Regions from separate parts of the Homo sapiens genome. Here regions 1, 3 and 4 are each linked to region 2. Evidence: promoter capture Hi-C in human tissues and cell types (Jung and others, 2019). All regions are on one chromosome and are shown on one strand. Each heading gives the region's core, a stretch centred on a gene start or on the middle of the fragment in contact. The rest is flanking DNA. Distances are from core to core; before and after follow the strand shown.

The links. The method cuts DNA at HindIII sites, captures the fragments that hold promoters and counts their contacts. A contact is called where the count stands out against the background at its distance.
Region 1: a fragment that was not itself captured here is called in contact with the fragment with the promoter of DAAM2 in region 2 in 2 of the 25 tissues and cell types used here (hippocampus and mesendoderm cells).
Region 3: a contact is called between a fragment that was not itself captured here and the fragment with the promoter of DAAM2 in region 2, in 2 of the 25 tissues and cell types used here (dorsolateral prefrontal cortex and mesenchymal stem cells).
Region 4: a fragment that was not itself captured here is called in contact with the fragment with the promoter of DAAM2 in region 2 in 2 of the 25 tissues and cell types used here (bladder and dorsolateral prefrontal cortex).

The regions. Positions count from the first base shown.
Region 1 is chr6:39,499,654-39,502,570 of GRCh38, reverse strand. The region is part of intron 13 of KIF6 (kinesin family member 6); the gene reads left to right. Among named protein-coding and RNA genes, the nearest start is that of KCNK16, 180 kb to the right of the region's middle. The HindIII fragment of the contact is 4,347 bases long and covers 1-2,917 here.
Region 2 is chr6:39,790,766-39,793,826 of GRCh38, reverse strand. DAAM2 (dishevelled associated activator of morphogenesis 2) reads right to left here and starts at 1,451. Exons shown (of 25, transcript NM_001201427.2): 1 at 1,362-1,451. The HindIII fragment of the contact is 10,904 bases long and covers 1-3,061 here.
Region 3 is chr6:39,418,404-39,421,441 of GRCh38, reverse strand. KIF6 (kinesin family member 6) reads left to right here. Exons shown (of 23, transcript NM_145027.6): 15 at 1,439-1,494. Among named protein-coding and RNA genes, the nearest start is that of KCNK16, 97 kb to the right of the region's middle. The HindIII fragment of the contact is 3,152 bases long and covers 1-2,940 here.
Region 4 is chr6:39,400,511-39,403,376 of GRCh38, reverse strand. All of the region lies in intron 15 of KIF6 (kinesin family member 6), which reads left to right. Among named protein-coding and RNA genes, the nearest start is that of KCNK16, 79 kb to the right of the region's middle. The HindIII fragment of the contact is 3,368 bases long and covers 1-2,866 here.

The sequences.
Region 1 (2,917 bases), core at 66-2,565, 290 kb after region 2:
TCTAGGTTTTTTATCCTGCTTGCCATTCCATGTCTTTTAATTGGGGCATTTAGCCCATTTGCACTTAAGGTTAGTATTGTTATGTGTGGATTTGATCCTGTCATCATGATGCTAGCTGTTTATTTCGCAGACTTGTTTATGTGATTGCTTCATAGTGTCACTGGTCTGTGTACTTCAGTGTGTGTGTGTTTTTTTTAGTGGCTGGTAATGGTTTTTCCTTTCCATATTTAGTGCTTCCTTCAGGAGCTCTTGCAATGCAGGTCTTGTGGTACCAAATTCCCTCAGCATTTGCTTGTCTAAAAAGGATCTTATTTCTCCTTCACTTATGAAGCTTAGTTTGGTCAATATGAAATTCTGGTTTGGAAATTCTTTTCTCTAAGAATGTTGAGTATTGGCCCACAATCTCTTCCGGCTTGTAGGGTTACCACTGAGAGATCCACTGTTAGTCTGATGGGCTTCCCTTTGTAGGTGACCTGGCCTTTCTATCTGGCTGCCCTTAACATTTTTTTTCTTTTTTCATTTCAACCTTGGAGAATCTGAAGTTTGTGTCTTGGGGTTGATCTTCTCATGGAGTATCTTACTGGGGTTGTCTTCATTTCCTGAATTTGAATGTTGGCCCATCTTGCTAGGTTGGGGAAGTTCTCCTGGATGATTTCCTGAAGTGTCTTTTCCAACTTGGTTCCATTCTCCCTGTCTCTTTTAGGTATATCAATCAGGCACAGATATTCAGTCACTTCACATAATCCCATATTTCTTGGAGATTTTATTCATTCCTTTTAATTCTTTTTTTCTCCATTCTTGTCTGCCTGTCTTAATCCAGAAGCTAGTCTTCCAGCTCTGAGATTCTTTCCTACACTTGATCTACTCTGCTATTAATACTTGTGATTGCATTATGAAGTTCTTGTAATATGTTTTTCAGCTCTTACAGGTCGGTTATGCTCCTCTCTCTAAATTGGCTATTTTGGCTGTCAGCTCCTGTATTATTTTGTCATGATTCTTAGTGTCTTTGCATTGGACTACAACATGCTTCTTTAACTCAGTAAAGTTCATTATTATCCACATTCTGAAGCCTACTTCTGTCATTTCAGCCATCTCAGCCTCAGCCCAGTTCTGAGCCCTTGCTGGAGAGATGTTGTGGTCATTGGAGGAAAAGGGGCACTGTGGCTTTTTGAGTTTTTAGCATTTTTGTGTTGATTCTTTCTTATCTTTGTGGGCTTATCTACCTTCAGTCTTTGAGGTTGCTGACCTTTGGATAGGGTTTTTGTGATTTGTTGTTATTTTCTGTTTGTTTGTTTGTTTTTCTTTTAACAGCCTGACTATTCTTCATAGGTCTGCTGTGGTTTGCTGGGAGTCTGCTCTAGACCCTGGTTGCCTCAGTTCTTCCCATACCTGGAGGTATCACTGGTGAAGTTGCTTCCTTTGGCTAGGGGTGGGAATTCCCTTGGCTCTGTGTTGCTCCCGAGTAAGCCGTCACCCTTTTCTTCATTCTTCATGGGTCTAGTTGTTTCCCTGATCAGTCCCAATGCAACAACCTAGATATTTCAGTTGAAGGTGCTGTATCCACTCGCCCCTTCCATTCCTCTCCATGAGTTCCGCAAACTGCAGCTGCTTCTAATTGGCCATCTTGCTACATTTCTTATATGCCACTCCCCTCTCTCCCCAAAGGATTTCTGTCCTTCTCAGAACCTGCTTACCTTCTCTGAGGGCTTCCACCTCTCTGCTTCTAAGAGAGCTTCCACCTCTCTGCTTCTCAGAGAGCTTCCACCTCTCTACTTCTGGCTCTCTGCTTCTCTCTTGAACTCCAAACTCCCATTTCTATAGAGATGACCCTATGATAACAACGATGGCATGTGTCAAGTACTTTGTGCCAGGCTTAGTGCTAAATCTTTACTTACATTACCGTTTAACCTTCATAGAACCCTATGAAGTAGTAACATTGTTGTCCTCATTTTGTAGATGAGAGAACCCAGGAGGAGAAAGGTTAAGCAACTTGCCTCAGATTGTAACATTAGTAAGTAGCAAAACCCCCAGGGTGCCTCAATTAGCACCTTTAATAAAATGTGCCTCCAATTTCACGCATTATATTTCCCTAGCTCTTCCTCCTATATTTTCTACCTCAATGAGTGATATCTGCAGTTGTCTAAGTGGGAAAGCTTCACCTAATTTCAGATTCCTTCCCCTAGTCTCCCACAGCTGAATTGCTTATTTATTCTTGCCAGTTCTCCCTCTGGACTCTGGGGACTTTCTTTTCCCGATGTGAAGTGTACCTGTCTTTCCGTTTAATAATTTCTCTCTTGTATTCTTGCAACTGGTTTCTTTGTGTCCATTCTTAACTTCTCCAATCACTTTTCATGCCATTGGCACTGCCTGGATATCCCCCACCCATTCAGTTAACCTTCTATGCCTTCCCATCCCTGACACATTAACGTTTATACTTCAAGTACAGCACAGCGCCAAGCCCTTTCTCTAGCCCCATCTGTGTGCATCCTACTCTGTCTTTCCCTGATGATGGCCACTCCAGATGTCATGCTCCACTTCAAACACACCTCTACACATCATCTCCACCACTCCCTGGGTGGGGTCAGGACCTCACCAGCTACAACTCCCCACCTTCTTTCCCAGGGACCACAGTACATTGCTTATACCTTCCTCTGTTGAGCAGTTACTTTATCCTTTCTTGTGATAGGGAGCTTATATATCTAGCTCACCAACTAAATCATAAGCTCTTTCAGGAAAAGCTGAAACCAATTTTGCTATCTTCAGCTCATCACCACCTACCTTGAAGGTATATGAGGGAGGTTGAAGAGGACAGACGTGGGGATTTATTTGGTAAGTTACTGGTGACCTGTGACTTTCTTACTGATAGCTCAAGGGGGAAGGGAGGATGTGCTTACCCATATTCTCAAGCCAAACATTT
Region 2 (3,061 bases), core at 202-2,701:
GTCACTCGTTTGTGGAACCCAGCTATTGACAGGCAGTGCCTGGCACTGTGCTACTCAGGGATGATGGATCGATACAGCCTCACTGCTGCTTTTTTCCCCTACTCTCCGTGGAGCACACTTTCCGCCCTAGGCCCTAGGGAAAATCCATCCCCCGCTTCAGCTGGCTTTGCAAAGAAACTCAGGAAACTAACACCAAACTCAGAAGGGGGAAAACACAAGACTTTGAACTTTTTAAAGATGGGAAGCTGCTTTCATTCCCACGTGGGCATCAAGGGAAAACCTATGGGGACTCTTTTCCGGAGAGGTGTGATTTTCCTCTAACCCTCCGAGAAACGTTCCAAATCCACTCCAAAACTGTGGAGAAGTGGCCGAGGCAGAGAGAGAAGAGTTAAATCAAGCCCAGATCTCAGCAATCTGTGTTCAATTTTGATAAAAATCTCCCTCTCCCCCACCGCCCCCCTTCCTCCACCCCACAGCTCAGACACGTCTCTTTATGTTAGGAGCTTGCATCTTGTTTGGGGCACCACACGCGGCACTCCTGGAGAACCTGGCACGTACCTCACCGTGGCCATGTGGCAGAACCAACCATCCCACTCCCAAGCTACGGCTGGACACAGGGCCACAGCGTCCTGGCCATCACCACCACCTCCCCCTCTTCCTTCTCATCCTCTTCACAAAATTACCTGCCGCCAGACCAAGTCCCTCATTCCCCGGTTAAGTCAGAGTCCCGACGCCTGGTAAAGTCAGGGCATGAGGTTGGTTTGCGACCGCAGGTGCTGAGAGCCCCAGAGTCCGGGGACCCCTTTCCTGAGATGCTCCTTCCCCCGCCCAGGGTCCCACTGCCACTGAGAACAAGAACCTTACGGCTGCCCTGCCCACTGGCCAGAGGCCAGGCCTGCAAGTGGGAGCTGGGGGCTTGTGAAGACTTCAGCCCAGCCAAGTGAAGGTTCAAGCCGAACCCGGAAAAGCCACCACCAAAAAGTTGTCAGTTTTGCGGGGTATCTTCTGTGTTTGTCCACTTGTGACAACCAGGGGTCAGGTTTCAAAGCCGCAAAAAACATTTTTAAAAAGTTTTCCAAAGACATTTCCTATGTCCAGATGTGCCAGTACAGACACACGCAATCACACTCATACACACACACAACTCACACACACACAGGCCCTGGGAGCCCACTCCGGGGTCGGCGGCTCCTGCAAACACTTTGGAGAAACAAAACCGCCAGCCTGCGGAGCTGCTGCCTCCCCAAGCCCCGCGGGGCATGCTAAAGAAAGCAGAGGGAGAGAAGTGTGGGAGCCCAGCGGAGAGGGCTCCCCGCGGCCCGGGCCCCAAGACGGGGAGCGCCAGGGCCGGCCGCACTTACTCCGAGGACCCCAGGGCGCCCGCGCTCCCGCAGCCCGAGGTACGGCGCCGCCGCCCGCGCTCCGCTCGCTGCTGCGTGCTCCGCGCTATCCCCGGGAAGCCGCGGCTGCCGCCCCTCCAGGCCCGGCCTCGCGCCCGTCCGCCCGCCCCGCTCTGACGTCAGGCGTCTTGGAGCGGGATATTTATGGCAAGGTTACTCTGAATTTTCCCTAGGTAGACTTCTGATTGCAGTTTCTTGGGATTTGTAATTTTCACACTTTCAGACCGAACGCAGGCGGGGGGAGAGCGCCACCGGCAGGGCGAGGCGTACAATGAGGGTAGCTGTTCCCCACTTTGGCAGGGAGCGTTCTCAGGGCCCCTTCTGTTTTGGAAACATGGAAGGGTCAAAGAGGCAAAAGTGGCCACCTGGGCAGCGGGTTTCTCCCCGGCTCCTCCTCTGGGCTACGGGCAAATGGCCTGGTCTGAGGCCGGCTCGGAGGTGAAGGTCCCGGTGCCAAGGAATCCCCTGTCCCTCCCCAAAGTGTCCCTGCACTGGACAGTGTGTCCCAAGGGGTGCTGGGCAAGACAGGAGCGAAATCAGGCACAACAGAACAGCTAATTAGGAGTCCTGGTCCACGCCCTAACAACTTTTCCATTTCTTTTTTGGGAGTGTATATATATTTTTTTAAGTTTATTTTTATTAAATTATGTTCCACACTCCCTGCCTCTGTATAGCTTTTCCAATTCAGTGCCAGTCAATTCATCTTACTTCATTGCTTGTATGCATAGTTTGAGCAGTTTACAATAGCTCTTATTCATACTTTTAAAATTTCCTTTTAGTTTTTTTTTTTCTTTTTTTTTTAAATGTGATTGTGGTCTGTCTCCTTGACTGAACTAGAGATTGCTTTGGTCAAGAGCAATTGTCCTCTCTGGGATTGGCAACACCCTCACGGGGAGTATTTGATCTTCTCTGTTTCCTATTTTCCCCAGCTCCCTCTGCAAGCAAATGGTGCCCCCACTGGGTGATGACCTGTATACAGTTTTCTGGGTGTTCAGTGGTTGTTCTGTGTTAGTGGTTGTCTGTTTCTCCACCTCACCAAAGGGGCTTAGGGAAATGGCTTGGTTTAAGGGCCACCCTTCCAGAGAAAAAAAGAGAATGTAATGCATGATCTTCCAGAGGAAAAAAAAAAAAAAAAGAGAATGTAATGTGTTATCCTTCATGGTTCCCAAGGATTGGAGAATGAAATGAACTTAAAATGATACACGTGAGATGCAAAATACTTATATGGTTAGACAACATAAGTGTTTAGGTATTCATCTCACCATGAATGGGAGGGGGCACGGATAATTGCAAATCATCATTAAAACACAACTATAGTGAACTTTCCATTAGCCCAAACTGGTAGAGGCGGGGTTGTGTTTTAACCACAGTTACAGTGCAGCAGGGACTCAAGGACTTGGAATGTGTTTACCTCTTTGGCAGCAGCTGGTTAGAGCTGATTGCCAGAAGGAGCTGTCTTAGGGCTGGGCCTCTCGGTAGAGGCCACGCTGTTTTGACCCAAGCCACCGAGGGCCCTGCAGCAGGGAGCTGCTGTTTGGTCACTGTGGGATTGCTCTCCCTGGCATAATACCCCACTTTTACCTCCTTCCATTCCCTCTCTCATATCAAGGCTCCACTGGCAAGGTGAGCTCTGTTCTTCAGCAGACCCTGCAAATAGGTTT
Region 3 (3,038 bases), core at 115-2,614, 370 kb after region 2:
TTTGCCGGGATATTAGAGATGGGGAAGTGAGAAGAGAAGAGTGCGGAGGAGGAGGGGAAATAGTTGAAATAAAACTGGACAATTAATAAAATGTGATACTGGGTATGTTAGGGTTCATTCTACTATCCTGTGTATATTTGGAAATTTTCATAATAAAACATTTTCTAAAAACTCCTGTGGATCCACAAAACCCAGGTCACTCCCACCTTGTACATGAAGCTTTCCTGACAGCTCTCCGCTCACTCGTGGACAGGCCACTCCCTAGTCAAACGCTAATGGCATGACTAGCCCCGCCAAGGTACAGCCATTTAATTCAGCTATCTATTAGGTGCTTGCTTTCATAGGCTTTCAATTGTCTCTTTAACTTCATGGCAGAAAGGAGAGGAGGGAAAGCAACTAACATTTCATGAGGGCCCACTATGTATAGGGACTGAACTACATGTTCTCACATAGGCCATGTCCTGTCTGCTTCTCTAGCGCAAAGTTGGCTCATCGTGGGTGTCTCAAACATAGGCCAGAAACATAAAGGAATCACTCACTAAACATTAGCACAGCAATCTAGTAGACTAGCATGAAGCCATCAAAGGTATGCATCTCATAATACAGGGAAGGACTTATGTTACAATGCTAAGTGAAAAAAAAACATCGGGGCACAAAATCATATCTGTATTATGATCCCAACCCTATAAAAACTGGCTCTATAAAAGACGGGGTGGATACGTGTATCCAATGTGCTTATTTCTGGGTAGAGGAGTACTTGAGAATTTTTTTCTTGTTTTTGTATTTTCAAAATCTGGCTTAATAACGGTATATAACAGGAATCAGCAAACTTCTTCTATAAAGGGTGAGGTAGAAAATATTTTCAGCCCTGTAGGCCACGCAGTCTCTGTCACATCTAGTCGACTCTGTCTTGTAGCGTGAAAGCAGCCACAGAAAATGCGTCAGTGAATAGGAGTGGCGGTGTTCCAGGGCAACTTTATTTACAGAAACAGGCAGCAGGCCAGATTTGTCTCATAACCAGCCATAGTTTTACAACCTCTGATATATTATTTTATAATCAGAAAAAAGTTATGTAAGTATATATTCTTTGGTTATAAGATCTTGGTATCATAATCAATAGAACACAGCACAGAAACCTTACAGCCAGGCTTTATTCTGATATCTTTGCATCATGAAATAATATAAATTAAAAGTCATAAATGAGAGACTATGAGAATACAAATTCTGTGCTGGATAGAGTAAAAATTAACAATACCTATAATTAATACCAATTTTCTCTCTATTTTTAAGCCTAATATATTTTACTTATTTAGATTTTTCTTTTGTGTCTTTCAATAAAGTTTCATCATATTTTAGTGACCTCTAAGAAATCTATTATTTTTAAAACATCTTGTAGGATGAACAGAAAAACTACAATTTTCATTTTTTTCCCCTCCAGATTTTCTGAAGCCAAGGCCCTGGGAGAAAGTATAAATGAAGCAAGAAGTAAAATTGGTAAGCAGATGATATTCTGTGAGCCTCTTTCAGAAACCATTTTCCTGGTGAAAATCAGGTCATGATGTGCCTCCAAATGGCCATGAAGCCCCAAATGGCCAGTTTCAGGAGAGCCCCTGCCAAGGAAGCTGCTTTGAGAGCCTTCCCTAGGAAGTGTGTGATCCCTCCCACCACCCAGCAGGAAAAGCACTTTCTTTTGTCTAGAACTTGAACTTTTCATCCTCAGGCAGACCTGAGCTCCAGCATCCCAATCAGAGAGTTGTGCTTTTCCCTGGTGTTTTTCAGCAGTAGCTCAGCTAATCATAACTTCACGGTTACAGTGAGACGTCATTTCGTATTTCAAGTATGGGGAAACACTCTTACACCTCCCAAAGCTTCTGCTTAGCATATTTGGCACAGGTATGATATTTTAGCATCAGTCAATAAGCTGGTGGAAGGATAAGAAGCAAAAACAAGCCATCGTGCCTTCCCAAGGTGGAGGCTGCCACGGAGGGCTCCCCACTTAGGTGAGTACCCCTGCAAAGGTGAAGTTAAGGCAAGAGGCAACTCAGTAAAATGTGCCTCGAATTCTCTTTTTTTTTTTTTTTTTTTTTTGAGACAGAGTCTCACTCTGTTGCCCAGGCTGGAGTGCAGTGGCGTGATCTCAGCTCACTGCAACCTCCACCTCCCAGGTTCAAGTGATTCTCCTGCCTCAGCTTCCCATGTGACTGGGACTATGGGTGCATGCCATCACACCCAGCTAATTTTTGTGATTTTAGTAGAGATGGGGTTTCACCACGTTGGCTAGGCTGGTCTCGAACTCCTGACCTCAAGTGATCCACCCACCTCGGCCTCCCAAAGTGCTGGGACTACAGGTGGTGAGCCACCACACCCAGCCTCAAATCCTTTTAAAAGTAAGAGGACAATGTTTTTTTCATCCCAAACTAAAAGATACCACAGAGACCCATCTCCCAGGCCCAGGGCAGCTTCACAGAGGCGATCCCTGTGCCTCACCTCTGTGCTGGAGAAGGCAGCAGTTACTGGCTCACAGCTGGCCCGCTGGGTCTCTCTTACTACCCCCTTTTCTCCGCCTACAAGTGAGGACAGGACAGAAGCCACTGTGAGTGCCCCCTTTAATTTTTCTAACAGAATATAAAAATCACGATAGCCTCAGTTTGTCTCGGTCGGTAAACAGGAGCCCCACAGTCCCCTCTGTGGCCTGAGACAGAAGGGGCTGAGGCAGCCAGACCCAGAGACACAGCCAACAGCCACACTCAGAATCCTTGTGTCTCAGGAGTTCTTGACCTAAGGTCCAGGATCTTGATAGGAGAGAAATGCCCCTGTATTTCTACTAACCTCTAACTGAAACTTAGCACCACCTCAATGATGAACCCAGTGGAAGTCACAGAGGCCTGCATGTCATATCACAGAGGGGCAGACGTTGTAAAATATCTTTTGTGCTATCAGTACAAAATTACAGTGGTTATTAGACTCACCATTAGATCTTTTTATTTAATACATTTATATAAAAGTACATAGATATTTCTGTATCACAAAAGGTTTTA
Region 4 (2,866 bases), core at 200-2,699, 390 kb after region 2:
AGTGAGAACTTCCACAATGCAGGGCAGGGGTGGGAGAAGGGTGTGAGTCCAACATGGCCTTGTGAGGGAGTCCAGGGGTGACAGAACTCTTGGGGATCCTGCTTTTGAAGGTGGCTACACAAATCTATGTGTGTGTCCAAACCCATGATGCACACACATGCTCCCAAGTCAATTTTACCATATTTAATAATAAATAAAAAATAAAACAGTATGAATCCACCAAGGAAAGAAGACAGGAGGGAATATCAGACAACCCACCTCAGCTTTTATAAAAGAAATGACCTCAGCTGTCATTTTAAAATGAATCTTATGTTGGAGAACAGAATTTTTTTTTTAATTTCTCTAGAAAGAGCACTTTAGGTAATTGGGTATGGGTTGATGATACAGGTTGTGGTGAATTATTTCAGGCTGAACGCAGTAGGAGCTTTTGCCACAGCTTTTCCTCAGTTTGGTCAGGGCAAGTAGGAAATTGAGGGCTTCTACGATGAGGACTTTGGGCAGAAAGCCTTGGTCTCAGGTTTATTCATTCAGTAATTTATGTACATCTGTAAAGTTGGAGGCCCTGTGGAAAACACACAAATCCATAGGAGAGTCCCCAGCCTCAGGATACCTGTAAGGTGGTTGAGAAGATAGGACACAGGAGGCCCTCAGGATTGAGCCTGCAATTACTCTGCAGACTCCCCTTATAAACCACCCAGTGGGGGCTTCTCAGTCAGGCCTCGTTGGTGGAGTAATAGGTCACTACAAATAAGTGCCCTGTAAAAGACTTGGGAACATTTCATCAGAGATAATCATTTGCAGTGCAATTTTCCCTTCTATGGCCAAGCCAGCAAAATTGATGGGTTTCTTAAATGTGCCTCAGGAGATTTTCTGATCTCTGTTCCACTTAAAGACCGTTTGGTTATTTTTTAGTCTGTCTCCACAAAACAGTATTTCATCAGGTTCCGCACAGCCAGAAATGTCTCTCCCTGACTTCCTAAATCACTGCAAGTTTCTGCCGGGCACAGCACGGAGTGAGTAAACAGGCCCATAGACCCAGGATTGAGGACAATTGTTTGCATTGTTCTAGGATGAGTCCTCGAAACGGCTTGAGTCCCTCATGCCCCTGGCACCTCTGCCAGGGTTGGTTGACAGTGCTTTCCATCACAGTAACACATCGTACCTTTTCCATTGCCCCAAGTAGAAGCTGAATTGAAGAGCTTCTGATGTCAGAGCTTCCTATCTGAGGTGTCACTGCAAAAAGGGAAACTGAGGCAGCAAGTGAGGAAAGAGTAGCTCACCTCAGCATGCAGAATGTGAGCCAAAGTCTAAGCAGTCTGCATTCTATTAAAATAGGGTCCATAGAAAACCAAGGGCTGCTACAGTTACTCCTATTTGCCAGGCCAGAAAACAAACCTGACTCCCAAAATACCAGCCAGGCCTATAAGAAATCAGGCAATAGACTAGCTAGAATGTTTCATTTCCTCTGCCTCTTTCTCTGCTAGTTTTGTTGCCAAAGAATTAGGTTTGTTTGTAAGAGACTATATTAACTACAGGCAGTAGTAATATTTTTCAGACAAGGATAATGAAAAACAAGAAATAAGGAACAGGGTAGATGTTGTCAGAGCCCCACCTGCATCCCTTCCACATGCCAGGCATGTGCACACTAGCATGACTTCACCTGCTAGCACTACCCACTCCCCCGAGAGCATTTTTCACCTACTCAAGAGATATATGTGGGGCAGGCTGGTGCTGGGGAATTAAAATCCCCTGCCCCGGGAGGACTCAATCAATGACTGTTGGCAGTTGGTGTATACGTACCCCAGCTCCCTCCCTCTGCAGGAGTGAGAGCTCTGAGGCATGTATCCTCTACAGGCCCCTAGAGTCTCCAAGTGGGATTGAGCTCCAATTGCCCATAGTGGAAAATGGCTTGCCATTGCCCCCTAGATTGGCTGCCTTCCCTCCATGTCTCACTTCCCTTGTCTGTTACCAGTGCTTCCAGGGATCATTTCCCAAATAAACTACTTGTACTAGGGTCTGCTTCCAGGAGAAACCACACTAAGATAGGGGGTATGGGGTGTTACCTCTGAGATAACTCAGATGGTGAAAAGAAGACAGAGGAAAATGGGAGCTGGATTATGCAGGCTTTCTCAACCAAAGTGACTTGAGCAACTGCAGAAAGGCTACTGGCCTCCGGCCACTGTAACAACTTCCTAGAAGTCACTGTCCTCATTGATAATGTTACACTATTAGGAATTAGGGGCACCTATTTGCCATTCAGATACTTATCTCTTCTTCATGTACGTGCAACATCTTAGCTTACCCATTGTTCACCCATTGTATTATCATCATTGGTGATTTCCTAAGATCCAGGTAAAAACCACCAATTCCTCTAAACACTGCCACATTGTTAAAATACCAACCCACAAAGGACTGTTGACGTTAGTCAGCTGACATGTAATCAATCCTTAGAAAACAGATTCCTGTGATTTCTGTGGTACAGAAAATCATTACATCAAGTGTATTGTCTCCAGCAGAAAATATCCTAAGGCCCACAGTAAACTTCTCACCAAAAACTGCATGTCATACACATTCACTCTTCATTGATACCCTTGACTGCAAAGAGAAAAGATTACAAATATCACCGTGGAGAAGGGGTCAGATCTGTTTCCAGTGACAGGCCAGAGTCAAAATCCTGTCGCATGAAGCTGAATGGATTCAGAAGCTTCTCCCCCACAACCCTCTTCCCCTCTCCTTGCCACACACTCACATGACTCCCCCAAAGCAAGAACTATCTCAAGTGGCAGCCTTTGGGGATAGAGAAAAATCTTTAGATTCCTTTATTAATTCCTTGGCCACCTCTCTGGCCTCCCAATGCTGACCAAGT